2 separate regions of the Homo sapiens genome follow, and region 2 is linked to region 1. Evidence: promoter capture Hi-C in 16 types of primary human blood cells and fetal thymus (Javierre and others, 2016). All regions are on one chromosome and are shown on one strand. The core of a region is centred on a gene start or on the middle of the fragment in contact, and the rest is flanking DNA. Distances in the headings are between cores, read along the strand shown.

What was found. The method cuts DNA at HindIII sites, captures the fragments that hold promoters and counts their contacts. A CHiCAGO score of 5 or more calls a contact.
Region 2: a fragment that was not itself captured here is called in contact with the fragment with the promoter of TBK1 in region 1 in 3 of 17 cell types (activated CD4 T cells, non-activated CD4 T cells and total CD4 T cells); the score reaches 6.1 in activated CD4 T cells.

Annotation. Positions count from the first base shown.
Region 1 is chr12:64,448,034-64,454,588 of GRCh38, reverse strand. TBK1 (TANK binding kinase 1) reads right to left here and starts at 2,469. Exons shown (of 21, transcript NM_013254.4): 1 at 2,402-2,469. It overlaps XPOT (exportin for tRNA), which reads right to left. Exons shown (of 25, transcript NM_007235.6): 25 at 3,464-6,484. The coding sequence ends at 6,458. RefSeq lists a silencer at 2,129-2,598. The HindIII fragment of the contact is 9,573 bases long and covers 1-3,931 here.
Region 2 is chr12:64,546,829-64,553,383 of GRCh38, reverse strand. It overlaps a transcript of RASSF3 not described here. Among named protein-coding and RNA genes, the nearest start is that of RASSF3-DT, 59 kb to the left of the region's middle. RefSeq lists an enhancer at 3,732-3,781. The HindIII fragment of the contact is 1,077 bases long and covers 2,377-3,453 here.

The DNA of each region.
Region 1 (6,555 bases), core at 1,220-3,719:
TTAATTCACTTAACACAGGGCTGAAAGAAACATCTATTTCTCAGCCGGGTGCAGTGGCCCATGCCTGTAATCCCAGCACTCTGGGAGGCCGAGGCGGGCGGATCACAAGGTCAGGAGTTCGAGACCAGCCTGGCCAATATGGAGAAACCCCGCCTCTACTAAAAATACAAAAAAATTAGCCAGGCGTGGTGGCGCATGCCTGTAATCCCAGCTACTCGGGAGGCTGAGGCAGAAGAATTGCTTGAAACCAGGAGGCAGAGGTTGCAGTGAGCTGAGATCGCACCACTGCACTCCAGCCAGGGTGACAGAGCGAGACTCCATCTCAAAAAGAAACAAAAACAAACAAAAACAACACCTATTTCTCTTCTAATTTTGTCTTTGTTGATGAGAGTGATATTGTTACTTACCTCCTTCAAATGTTTTGAAAGATTAATTTATGACATAATTTAAGGTGTTTTAAAATAAAGAAAAGTAATAATGTAAAATATAACAAATATAGGAAAAATTACTTTGTTTCCTTCAGAGCAGAGAAACACTAATGAAGACAAATGTTGTCACTGCATAATATTCCCATAAGCTAAAATTTTATCTACACAATCTACACAGAACCTGACAAACATAAAGGAAAGGTGCAAAAATTATTATTCCTGAAAAGTTACGAACTCTTCTGGAATTAATTTAAGGATAGTTTCTCCAACCTCCAAGTATAAATATATAAACGTACCAAGTAGCCTGTATTATCAAGTCTTTAATACTGAAAAGCTATGGATCTATCAAGGTATACAAAGTATCCAAGCTCCACACTGGACTAAAATTGATGTATGCTAACATAACATAAACACTAGTCCCACCATGCCCCCTTAAACCTGCTGTATTGTCATTAAAACATGGATTTTAATATCCCTCCACAGTAAGTTAAAGCAAAAAGTAGTATGCTAGACTAGGTATTCTGTGATGAATTAATGACCACCAATATCCCCAAGCTGGGTTAGGAAAATGCAGAATGGTCAGGGGTCTCAATTTTACCAATCACTGATATAGTAGGATATTTTTATATAATTTTACTACCCATCTAATTTAGATAAACTTTATATACGACTATAGGAAATAAGCAATAAAAATAAGATTCCCTTTTCACAAATAAGGAATACACATTTGCCAGTCATTACATTTCACTCACGATACAATAACAAACGTCTCAACTATCTAACGAAAAACCTTCCCTAATCAATGTAACTGTAAATGGCAAATAGTACCATTAGGTACCTATATGTATGTACCTTCAGGATAATAAGAAAAATATTTATCAGCTAAGATATCTGTTCTCTATGCAAATACAAAACTATGGTTTCTATTTAACAGTAATCACAATAGTGGTCAGGGGAAATGTCTTTTGAAATTATCTTCCAATAACTCCACAATAACATGTTAAAACATGACTCAGCACACCCACAACGTGCTTGCCATATAAATCTTCCCAAATTTTTGACAAGCATATAAGCAGACACTCAACAACTATGTTGCTGATGATGCCGTCTTCAGCCTACTTCCTTACACCGTCCAAAACGAAAGTTACTATTTGTTGAGGGATGAAAACAGGTTTGACGACATGGCCTATGGACAAAGTTCCAGGATTTCTAAACTCTGCCCCTATGTGATTCATACACTGGGGTTTCAGAGTGGAAAAGACCAGTCTTTGGTTATACATTTGGCAATTACTTGGGAGTTGTTTTGAGGCCACCTACTAAGAATACTTGGGATAGAGATTACAAATTAAACCCATAAGCCAGGTAGACGAGGAGCAAGGAAATGTCTGGGAATTCGTATTTCATCGGCATATATTTAAAACATCTTATGCTTCTAATTTCCGGTGTGAGTCAACCTCTGCGGACTGAACATCACTAAAACTCTAAGGAAACGTCTCTTTTTAATCCTCTGAAAAATCAATACATTTAAAAACTGCCCGTTGTGTCGACGCTCGGAAAGAGGGTAGAAAACAGCGAGTCTAAGGGAAAGAGGTGCCCCTGCCTCCCCAGGCAGCCAGGGCCCAGGCCCGGTAACGGAGTCGTCCTCTTTATGCCCAAAGCCGCCGGACGGGATGCAGGTCGAGGACCGGCCGCGCGGCGCGGAGCGGGGATGCAGGTAACAGGGCCCGCGCGACCATTCCACCGGCTACGGCCACCCGACACACACCCCAGAGGCAGTGTCCACGCAGCCGGGGTCCTGGATGGCTTGGCCTCGGGTCGTCCGGGGCTTCTCGGTGCGCCCGCCCCCGCCCCCGCTCTGACTCAGCATCCCAGCCTCCCACAGGGGGCGGGAGCGCTCCCCGCCGGGCGGCGCAGGCCTGACCGACCGCGCCCCGCGCCGCCTTGGCCCCTCAGCCCGCGGCCGTCTCACTTACCCAGCCGGGTCTCCGCCGCGCCACCGCCGGCGGGCTCCCGCGGCCTCCTCGAGACTCAGGACACTTCCGGCTTCGCAAGCCCTGGCCGGAGGCCACGTGACCGACGGCCGGCGCGCCGGTGCGGGTGCGCGTGCGCACGCCTATGGCCCGTCTGGTAGTCACCACAGCCGCGGCGGCAACTGCCGAGTCGGCTTCCGCGGCCACGGTAATGAGGGGGATGTCTGGAGACACCCCGTCCACTGTTGCCCTCGCCCTTTACTCTAAAGGGGAATGAGGAGCCCTGAGCAGCGAACACAGTAATTGGGATTCCCGCAACTGCAAATCCCGCCCCTTCCCCGAGCGCTGGCCGACAGTAGGGCGGACCGACGCTGAGCAAGGGATTACATCCCAAGATTTACAGGTGTGCAGAACGTGGGACACGTGGGGGGCAGGCACAGACGGCCGGCAGAGCTGGGAGGGATGGATTCTATGTTTTAAGGGCCCACTTTGGCTGCAGTGGAGCCAGATTATCGTCTCGCAGTAATTCAGACTTTACATTGTTTTTTTCATTTTCCCATCACCCAGAAATACATTAAATTCTTAATGTAAAAATGTTCATTTAATTCCCTCTCGGTATTTTGGAAAACGGCCGTATTGGAGTATCTAACTCTAAACTTAAGAATTTAAGAACTAAAACTTAAATACTAAAATTAGGTCCTGCAATATTCGTGCAGTCAAAATCTCAAGCCGCTATTCCCAATAAGGAATAGCTTTCTGAAGGGGTCCCTTCTGCCCACGGACAGCACAACAGGCCTTTCTCAACATGAGGGAGCAGAGACCGCTGCTAATCTAGGGCTAAATTTCTGAGTGGAGGGGAAGAGGAAGATGGTGTTTCCCAGAGTAGCAGCAGCAAACACGAATGAATGGGAAGTCATGCGGAGTGGCTCAGAGGCTTTTGAATGTAACAGACCTAGGGTTGCTGTCTCGGCTGCCAATTACTGACTTAAAAGCTAATCTCTTACCTCTCTAAGCCTCAGTTTTATCAAATGCACAATGGAGATAACAAAAGTCCACTCTAATGAATTCTTACAAAGCAAGTTACTTTATTAGCATTTTAAACAATGTATAAGTGATGGAATCATTCTAACAACACATCTATTCACTGCTTACAATTCCAACTAATTTCAGTTCTTTGATATCTAATGACAAGAGCGAAGACCTGTTAAAGTTCCTTCCACCAGTAAAACTCACAGCTCAAAGTTGTGGGAGTGATTAACTGAGCCACAGGCCTTCATTCACATGTTTACCACATTAAAATACCACACAGTGTTTTCTTATAAGGTCAACCAACTGGGAAGCAATTAACATTAGCATTAAGATTTAAACTGTTAGGCACAGGGCTAAATCAGGCATTATATGAAAACTTGTGGTTCCCTAGTCAAGTCAAACAAATCCCCAAATATTTCAGCTTGTAACAGTTTTGTCCTTCCTCTCTTGAGACAATTATTTGAGTACTTGCTTTTGGAAATAAGGTAATTCATGATGGAAGCTTCCTAGCTGTGATGGTGCTCTAGGCAACTTCAGAGAATGAAGATAGAAGTTATGCATGATTATATAACATGAAGAGTTTAATTTTTATTACACACTCAATTTCCATGCCCTGATTTCTCTTAGCTCTATAAACACATGTAAATCTTCTGCAGAGCTTTAAAGAGCTCTGAAAGGGAAAACACCTTTCCATATATGGAATTGATAGCATAGTAAGGCCGTGTGCAGTGGCTTATACCTGTAATCCCAACATTGTGAGGCCAGTGGGAGGATTGCTTGAGGCCGGGAGTTTGAGACCAGACTGGGTAACATAGTGAGACCCTGTCTCTACCAAAAAAAAATGTAGCTGGGTGTGGTGGTGCACACCTGTAATCACAGCTAGTCTGGATGCTGAGGCAGGAGGATTGGTAGAGTATGGGAGAAGTTACAGTGAGCTATGATGTCACCACTGCACTCCAGCCTGGGTGATAGACTGATCTCTATTCAAAAAAAAAAAAGAAAAAAAAAGTATAGTGATACACTATTAATTCCATATATGCTAATATGAGATAGCATCCATATAAACTACTATCAAGTCTTTATGTGCCAGCTACTGTAATAAGTCTTTTCAAGTTTAACTCATTGAATTCGTAATGAGGTTTGAGGTAGCTACCATTATTTCCATTTTACAAATAGGGAAACTGAGGCTGGGAGACATTCTTTAACTTGCCCAAGGTTCTAAAACCAGTTACTGGCAGAACTGGTATTTGAACCTACTTAATCTGATTCTAGAGCCTGTGCTATATAAACTCTTACCCACTATGCTATGCTATTCATTAGTATCCATTTAACAATTACTACTATTGCAATAGCTGCAATTATCACTCCTATAGTACAGGGGAACCTATCAAAGAAACACTCAGCTTTCACTTATCTATTTCTGAAAACATTTTTTATTAAAGTATAAGGTACATTTCACTGATTTATTTTTATAACTGTCAATTTAGTTAAGTATTTTTATTATATGGTGTAAGAAAAATGTTTGAAATGTCTTCTGGAATTAACCGGAACAAAATAAATGTACAAAATTTAGAATAGAATTTTACAGAGTTTATAAGCCACTGAAGCCCATTCATGAAACCCATTCATGAGGCCAAAGGGCAAAACAAACCCTCCCTGAACATCTCAATTGGGCTTTTAGAATTTAAACGTAAATGTCTATACGAATTCTGCTGCTCAGTTTTGTCCCTCCTCTCTTCTTTCCAGTGACACTACTGATAACTATTATTTTTTCCTTTTGCTTTCTCAAGTAGCCATGAATAAAAATGGAGGAAGGCAGGGGTAAGTACTTCTAATAATTAAATGTCAGTTACCATTTACAAACATAATAAACACATAGGTATACTATAGGTATACTGTGTTCTAAATACATCCAATAAAAGAGTTAGAAAATAAATTGGGATTTTAAATTCTTTTTTTTTTTTTTTGAGAGAGAGTCTTACTCTCTTGCCCAGGCTGGCGTGCAGTGGCACAATCTCAGCTCACTGCAACCTCTGCCTTCCGGGTTCAAGCGATTCTCCTGCCTCAGCCTCCTGAGTAGCCGGGATTACGAGCGTGCACCATCACACCTGGCTGTTGTATTTTTAGTAGAGATGGGGTTTCACCATGTTGGCCAGGCTAGTCTCGAACTCCTGACCTCAAGTGATCCACCTGCCTTGGCCTCCCAAAGTTCTGGGATTACAGTCGTGAGCCACCACGCCCGGCCTGGAATTTTAAATTCTATCAACAGATTCACATAGGCTTTTTCCAGTACATTAAAGAAAAAGACTCTCATATAACAGAACTAAGTTGCATGTTACCTTTGAGGAGTGAGGTTAAATGAATTAAAGCATCCACACACTCATATTTGTAAACCTTTAAATGGGAAATTATGGAGAGATTAAGATGAGAAAATAAAACTAAAGTATTTATAATAATTCCAGAAAAGACTTGGAAGATTTCACTACGTAAAGTTTATTTTTATATATATATATAAAAAAAAGTATAACACTGGAGCCTAAAACCATTCTCTTTTGTAGAATACATATTGGCGTTGAAACAGTTTAAAGAAATGAAATGGCTATCTACAAAAAGTTAGTTTTGATTGCTGTCTTCCCCCATACTTTGTGTCTTCACACATAAAGAAAATTTTCAAAGATTTTATATTCAGCAATTTTTTAAAAAGTACACTGTTTTCCACTGCTATGGTCTTTATAAAGGACTTGACTTAAAATTTCAAATAAAAAAGAATTAAGGTTCTAGGATAACTCTTGTGTCTTTTAAGAGCATCTTTATACAGAACAATTTGGACCGGCATGCAGGCAACTTCTTTTGTTGTTACATACCTGTATTAGGAAAATTACACCCATTTTACAGAAAAATCCCAAAACATATACTGCAATAAGCTCAAAACAATGTGAAAAAGACCAGTGTGAATGGCACACAAAAATCGCCTCTTTATAAATTAACTGGAATTCATGATCATGAAGTAGGCACAGGGAAATCCAGTCCTCAGGGCTTTGCTCTCTGGAAGAACACCTGTAAATAAAGTATTAATGCAATCAATACTAATGTCAGAAGATATCACTTTCACCTGAAGAATGGCTCCA
Region 2 (6,555 bases), core at 1,666-4,165, 98 kb before region 1:
ACTCTCCCTGGCCCAATGTCAGGAATATTTAACCCCCCGGTCCACCCTCACTTGTCAGCAGTTCTGCACTTAGACATATAGCTGTTTGCTTCCTATTTAAACTGAACCTAGTGTAATTATTGAACTGGACTTCTAATAATGATATTAACAAAGTTACCGAAAAGGAAAAGCTAACAACTTGCAGACCTCTAAAGTTGGTACTGAGCATATAAAATATCATGTGATATCAAAAAGAGATTGTGTGGAAAGTGCTGCAGGATGAGGGCAGACAGAAAACGTTTATAGACTCACAGGCCTTTGGTGTGTGGCACCACACCCGGCTAATTTTTGTATTTTTAGTGGAGATGGGGTTTTGCCATGTCGGCCAGGCTGGTCTCGATCTCCTGACCTCGTGATCCACCCGCCTTGGCCTCCCAAAGTACTGGGATTATAGGTGTGAGCCACCGAGCCCGGCCCCAAGTTGCTATTTTTGAAAATAAGGACGGAGGCCGGTGAGCAGAGATTGCGCCATTGCACTCCAGCCTGGGTGACAAGAGCGAAACTCCATCTCAAAAAAAAGAAAGAAAGAAAAAGAAAATAAGGATAGAATCAACCCAAATGCCCACCAATGATAGACTGGATAAAGGAAATGTGGTACATATACACTATGGAATACTATGCAGCCATATAAAGGAACGAGATCATGTCCTTTGCAGGGACATGGATGGAGCTGGAAGTCATTTTTCTCAGCAAACTAACTCGGGAACAGAAAACCAAACACCACATGTTCTCACTTATAAGTGGGAGCTGAACAATGAGAACACATGGACACAGGGAGGGGAACAACACACACTGGGGCCTGTCAGGAGGTGGGGTAGCGGGAGGGAGAGCCTTAGGAAAAATAGTTAGTGGATGTTGGGCTTAATACCTAGGTGATGGGTTGATAGGTGCAGCAAACTGCCATGGCACACATCTGCCTATGTAACAAATCTGCACATCCTGCACATGTACCCCAGAACTAAAAATAAAAATTAAATTTATCCTGCACATGTACCTGCACATCCTGCACATGTACCCCAGAACTAAAAATAAAATTAAAAAAAGAAAATAAGGGCAGTGGAACCCAGGGTTCAAATCTCTTGCCCGAGTTCTCCTGGGTCTCAGGTCTCAGCTTTCCCTCTACCCTTTCCTTTCTCTCTTTCCTCCTTCCCTTTCTAGCCAAGCGCCCTGGCTCCCCAAAGTAAATTTTCCCATGTCCTTTAAAAAACAAAGCACAGAGAAAATGTTGCTTGCTCAGAGTCACATTACAATATTTAAATAAAACTAACTCTAAGGCCCCCCTAAATTTAGGGTCTGGGTGTGACTGCATTGTTTCTGTTCTTGGACCAACAAACCCCAGGGGTTTTCTGATGGCTTTTGGAAAGCTGTTTGCTCTTGTGTAAGGCGGGTGGACGTTGCTGTGCACATCTCGTAATCTATTTGAAGATAATATCTCTCAGTCTCACAGAAAAACTGAAAATATTTTGGAAAACATTTCGTAGTTGTAAAACTAGCTGTGGACCTTTGGCAAGTTGGTTCGCCTCTCTTTAACTGAAGACTGCTGTTAACCACAAACACGCTTACAAACCATGTGTCTATGCCAAGTTCTAGGCTAAATGGACAAATACGATTGTTGTGAGTATTAAAGAAAACAATAATATTAGTTAACATTAATTGAAGTTTCCCACCAAACACCAGGCTAAGTACTTTTCTATGCATTGCCTAATTAAATCTCCACAGCAATGCTAAGTAGTAGACATGATTACATTTACTACATGCATATTATTTTTGAGACAGGGTCTTACTCTGTCTCCCAGATTGGAGTGCAGTGGCATGATCATGGCTCACTGCAGCCTCAACCTCCCAGGTTCAAGTGATCGTCCCACCTCAGCCTCCTAAGTAGCTGGGACTACAGGCGCGCACCACCATGCCCGGCTAATTTTTGGCATTTTTTGTAGAGCCAGGGTTTTGCCATGTTGCCCAGCCTGGTCTCAAACTCCTGGGCTCAAGTGATCCACTCGCCTCAGCCTCCCAAAGTGCTGGGATTACAGGAGTGAGCCTATTAAATACATTTTGCATGTTATAGTGCCCGCCTATTACATACATTTTATGGATGAGATTAAGTGACTTAACTAAGTCCATTCAGCAAATATGCGGCTGTATACCTTGACCGTCCTTGCTCTTAATCTGTGCATAGGTACTTTGTACATGTCTGGTACTGTAAAGTGCTGTAGAAGTAAGTCTAGTGGCCATCTTTGGGGGTTATGGATATTCCTAACATCTTCCTCTGGTCTCTGCCCCTACTTCTGAATTTGAATAAGGGTGAAACCAAGATCAAACAGCCATCTCGGGCAAGCTTGAGGAGGGAAAAGGAGTCATAGAAACAGTAGCCTAAGGAATGTGTGGGTGGAGGTGGGGTGCTGTGGGTTGAAGTATTCCCTTAGCAGTGAGCCGGCAGGATTGGAACATTTTCGGGCTTTATGGACATGAGCATCAGCTCTTTCTCTCTTTTTTTTTTCCTTTCTTTCTTTCTTTTTTTTTTTTTGAGATGGAGTCTCTCTCCCTCTCTCAGGCTGGACTGCAGTGGCTAGATCCTGGCTCACTGCAACCTCCTCCTGGGCTCACGCAATTCTCCCACTTCAGCCTTCCAAGTAGCTGGGGTTACAGGCACCCACCACCACTCCTGGCCTCCTTTTTCTTTTCGTTTTTTGGAGACGGAGTCTTGCTCTGTTGTCCAAGCTGGAGTGCTGTGCCACAATCTTGGCTCACTGCAACCTTGCCTCCCGGGTTCAAGCGAATCTCCTACGTCAGCCTCTGGGATTACAGGTGTGCACCACCACACCTGGCTAATTTTTGTATTTTTAGTAGAGATAGGGTTTCGCCACGTTGGCCAGGCTGGTCTTGAACTCCTGACCTCAGGTGATCCACCCACCTCGGCCTCCCAAAGTGCTAGGATTACAGGCATGGGGCACTGTGCCTGGCTATTTCTCTTTTCTTTTCTTTCTCTTCTCTTCTCCTTTTCTTTCTCCTCTCCTCTCCTCCTCTCCCCTCTTCTCTCTTCTCCCTTTCTTTCCCCTTCTCGTTTCCTTTCCCTTTCTTGTTTTCCCCTTACATGTTAAATATATTGAAGAATAATTTACACAAAATAAAACGCATTCTTCTTTGTTTCCTTAGTTTTAAAGCAAGATTTATCTCCTTTAGATTCCCAGTAGGAAAAGAGAAAAGAGAGGGCAGGAAGGAGAACTTTAATGGAGGTGGGAAGGGGGTGGGGGGCGCTGAGACTATAGATAAAATCTCTGTGTTATTTCTTCTTTTGTAAAATCACTTAATTTCTGTAAAACTTAATCACCTCCCTCATCAATCAAAGTGAGAATAATAATATCTTGATAGACTTGTGGTAAGCATGAAAGAATATCTGACAGACACAAAGAAGCTTAATTCATGTTAACAATGAAATGATATTGATATGATTGTGTCTAAACCTTAGGACTGTGCAAGGAGTGCTCAAAAACACAAGCAATCATTAGATATTTATTGTTTTTCTTTGAATCCGTGGCACACAGACAAACATATAGGAGTCAATGCTAGAGCTCCCTCTGGTGGCTTTGCTGTCACAAACACACCAACTACTGTATCCCTACCTCCGCTTATGGGGCTCAGGAGAGAGAGGCTGTGCTGGCTGCTGGCCGCCATGTCAACACCCCCCACAGGAGGGGAGCTTGGTAGAGGCCTTGCTACAGGTGCTTTCATCAGAAAGTTTTACCATTGACTCCTAATGATTAAGAATAATTAATTCCCCAGGTGTGAAATTGAACTGTGTGAAATTAGCTGGTATTGAATCTTTACTGACAGAAATGGTAACTTTATGTCATTGAATCTAGTAATTGCTGCTATAATTAAAAATCTGAGTGTGTAAAGTAGTAAATCAGTTACAAAGGAAACAAACATACAACAAAGGAAGCAAAGTGCACAATGACTTTAAGAATGACTTTGTGGCCTCTGATTAGCTTTCAACATTTAAAAATTCTTTTTAGAGATAGGGTCTCACTATGTTGTCCAGGCAGTTCTCAAATTTCTGGGCTCAAGTGATCCCCCCAAAGTGTTGGGATTATAGGCCAGAACCACTGCACCCGGTCTTCTGTAGGATCTACAACTGGCAGAAGAACAGTCTGTCTCTCCACATTTAGTCAAACCCCTCAGGGATTTTAATAACTAGGACTGTTTTCCTTATTTCCAGTATCTCTTCTAACACCTTCACCCTTATGTCCCCACCTTACCCCAATTAGAAATTCAAGTGTTGTTGGGCTATCGTACCCCACTTTTCTGGGAGTTCACTCAGACCTTCCCTTTCCTTTCCCACTTGGGAAAGGATCCACTCTCAGGGCCTTGAAGACAATTGATTGTGAAGTCCACATCCTCTGAGAAAGACCAGATCAAGGGCTTACAAAAATTACTAACCTCTGAGTCTTAACTTCACTAATGACAATTTGAAAATTGGAACAGATCAAACCACTGGATCATTCCCTCACCCTGCCCACCAAATCTTAAAGCACTAAGCCCTTTAAAATTGAATTTTAAAATGGATTTAAAATTTAAAGATTTTAGGTGGAATACATTACTCAGGAGACTATGGATGAATTTATAGTGAGCTAAGTTTGTTTGTGAACTGCTGGAAAGGGTATAAACTGGTATGAAGTTCCTATTAAAGAAGTTGGCAGTATGTATTAAGGGCTATTAAAACTCTTGACCGATAAATCCTCCTTCAGAATCTGTATTAAGGAAACAAGAAGAAATGTAGGAAAAGATTTTCATACAAAGATATTGTTGCAGCTTCATGTTCAACAGTAAGAAATGCACCAAAAGAAGTAAAATTGTTGGCCAGGTGCTGTGGCTCATGCCTATAATCCTGGCACTTTGGGAGGCCAAGGCAGGAGGATAGCTTGAGCCCAGGAGTTCGAGACCAGCCTGACCAAGATGGTGAGACCTCTTCTCTACAAAAAAAATAAATAAATAAAAATAAAAAAAACTAGCTGGGCATGATGGTGCCTGCCCATGGTCCCAGCTACTTGGGAGGCTGAGGATCCCTTGAGCCCAGGAGATCAAGACTGCAGTGAGCTGTGATTGCGCCACTGCACTCCAGCCTGGGCGACAGAGTGAGACCCTGTCTCAAAATAAATAAATAAAATACAATAAAAAATTTAAAAAGATATGAAGTAGAATTGTTAAATCAATATGAAAGATTCATAAATATTACACCTTAGAGCTCACTTTTTCAGAGAATATAGAGCGGCAGGAAACATGGTCACATTGTAAGGAAGGGTGAAAACATATCTATGTCTGTATCTATCCAAATACTGATTTCCAGTTTTACGAAGAAATACATATAGACAATGGACACTGAAAAAAGAGAGGAATGAAGGACACTAAAATACTAAGGGCAATTATATCTCTCTGGGTGGTGGGATTATAGGCAATTTTAACGTTTTTCTTAACCTTTTTACATTTTCCACAGTTTCTTTAATAATCATGCATTGTTTTTATAATCACAAAAATATATGCAATACAACAGGAATTTGATCCTGAATCAAGGTTGTGGGGGGGAAGAATTTGATTTGAAAAATCGATCAAAGTTGAGTTTCATCTTCTTCATGGTATTGAATTTAGAAACTGAATACCAGCTTTCATCAAACTCTAAAGCTGACAAATAACTAAATATGTTTTAAAATATTTTATAGTTGAAAAGTTCCTTCCTTCCTTCCTTCCGTCCTTCCTTCCCTTCTTTTTTCTTTCTCTTTTTTTTGAGACGGAGTCTCACTCTGTTGCCAGGCTGGAATGCAGTGACATGATCTCCGCTCACTGCAACCTCCGCCTCCTGCGTTCAAGCGATTCTCCTGCCTCAGCCTCCTGAGTATCTGGGACTACAGGTGTGTCCCACCACGCCCAGTTAATTTTTGTATTTTTAGTAGAGATGGGGGTTTCATTATGTTGGCCAGGATGGTCTCAATCTCTTGACCTTGTGATCCGCCTGCCTCAGCCTCCCAAAGTGCTGGGATTACAGGCGTGAGTCACCGTGCCTGGCTTTTTTTTTTTTTTTTAGATCAAGTCTCTCTCTGTCACACAGACTGGAGTACACTGGTGTGATCTCGGCTCACTGCAACTTCCACCTCCTGGGTTCAAGCAATTCTCGTGCCTCAGTCTCCTGAGTAGCAGGGATTACAGGTGTGTGCCACCACACTTGGCTCATTTTTTAATATTTAGTAGAGACGGGGTTCACCATGTTGGCCAGGCTGATCTTGAATTCCCAGGCTCAAGCAATCCACATGCCTCGGCTTCCCAAATGTTGGGATTACAGGTGTGAGCCACCATGCCTGGCCCCAACAATCTTTCAATGTCCTCTCCATATCAAAAAGTGGGAGCAAAATAAGAATGAGGGAATGGTTTTTGTGGTTCTTGGCCAAATTCTATAGCTTCTAGGAGTTTCTGCTTAAATAGTTCTTTTCAAGGACCAAATTGAAACCTTTCTGAAGTTTATCGCTC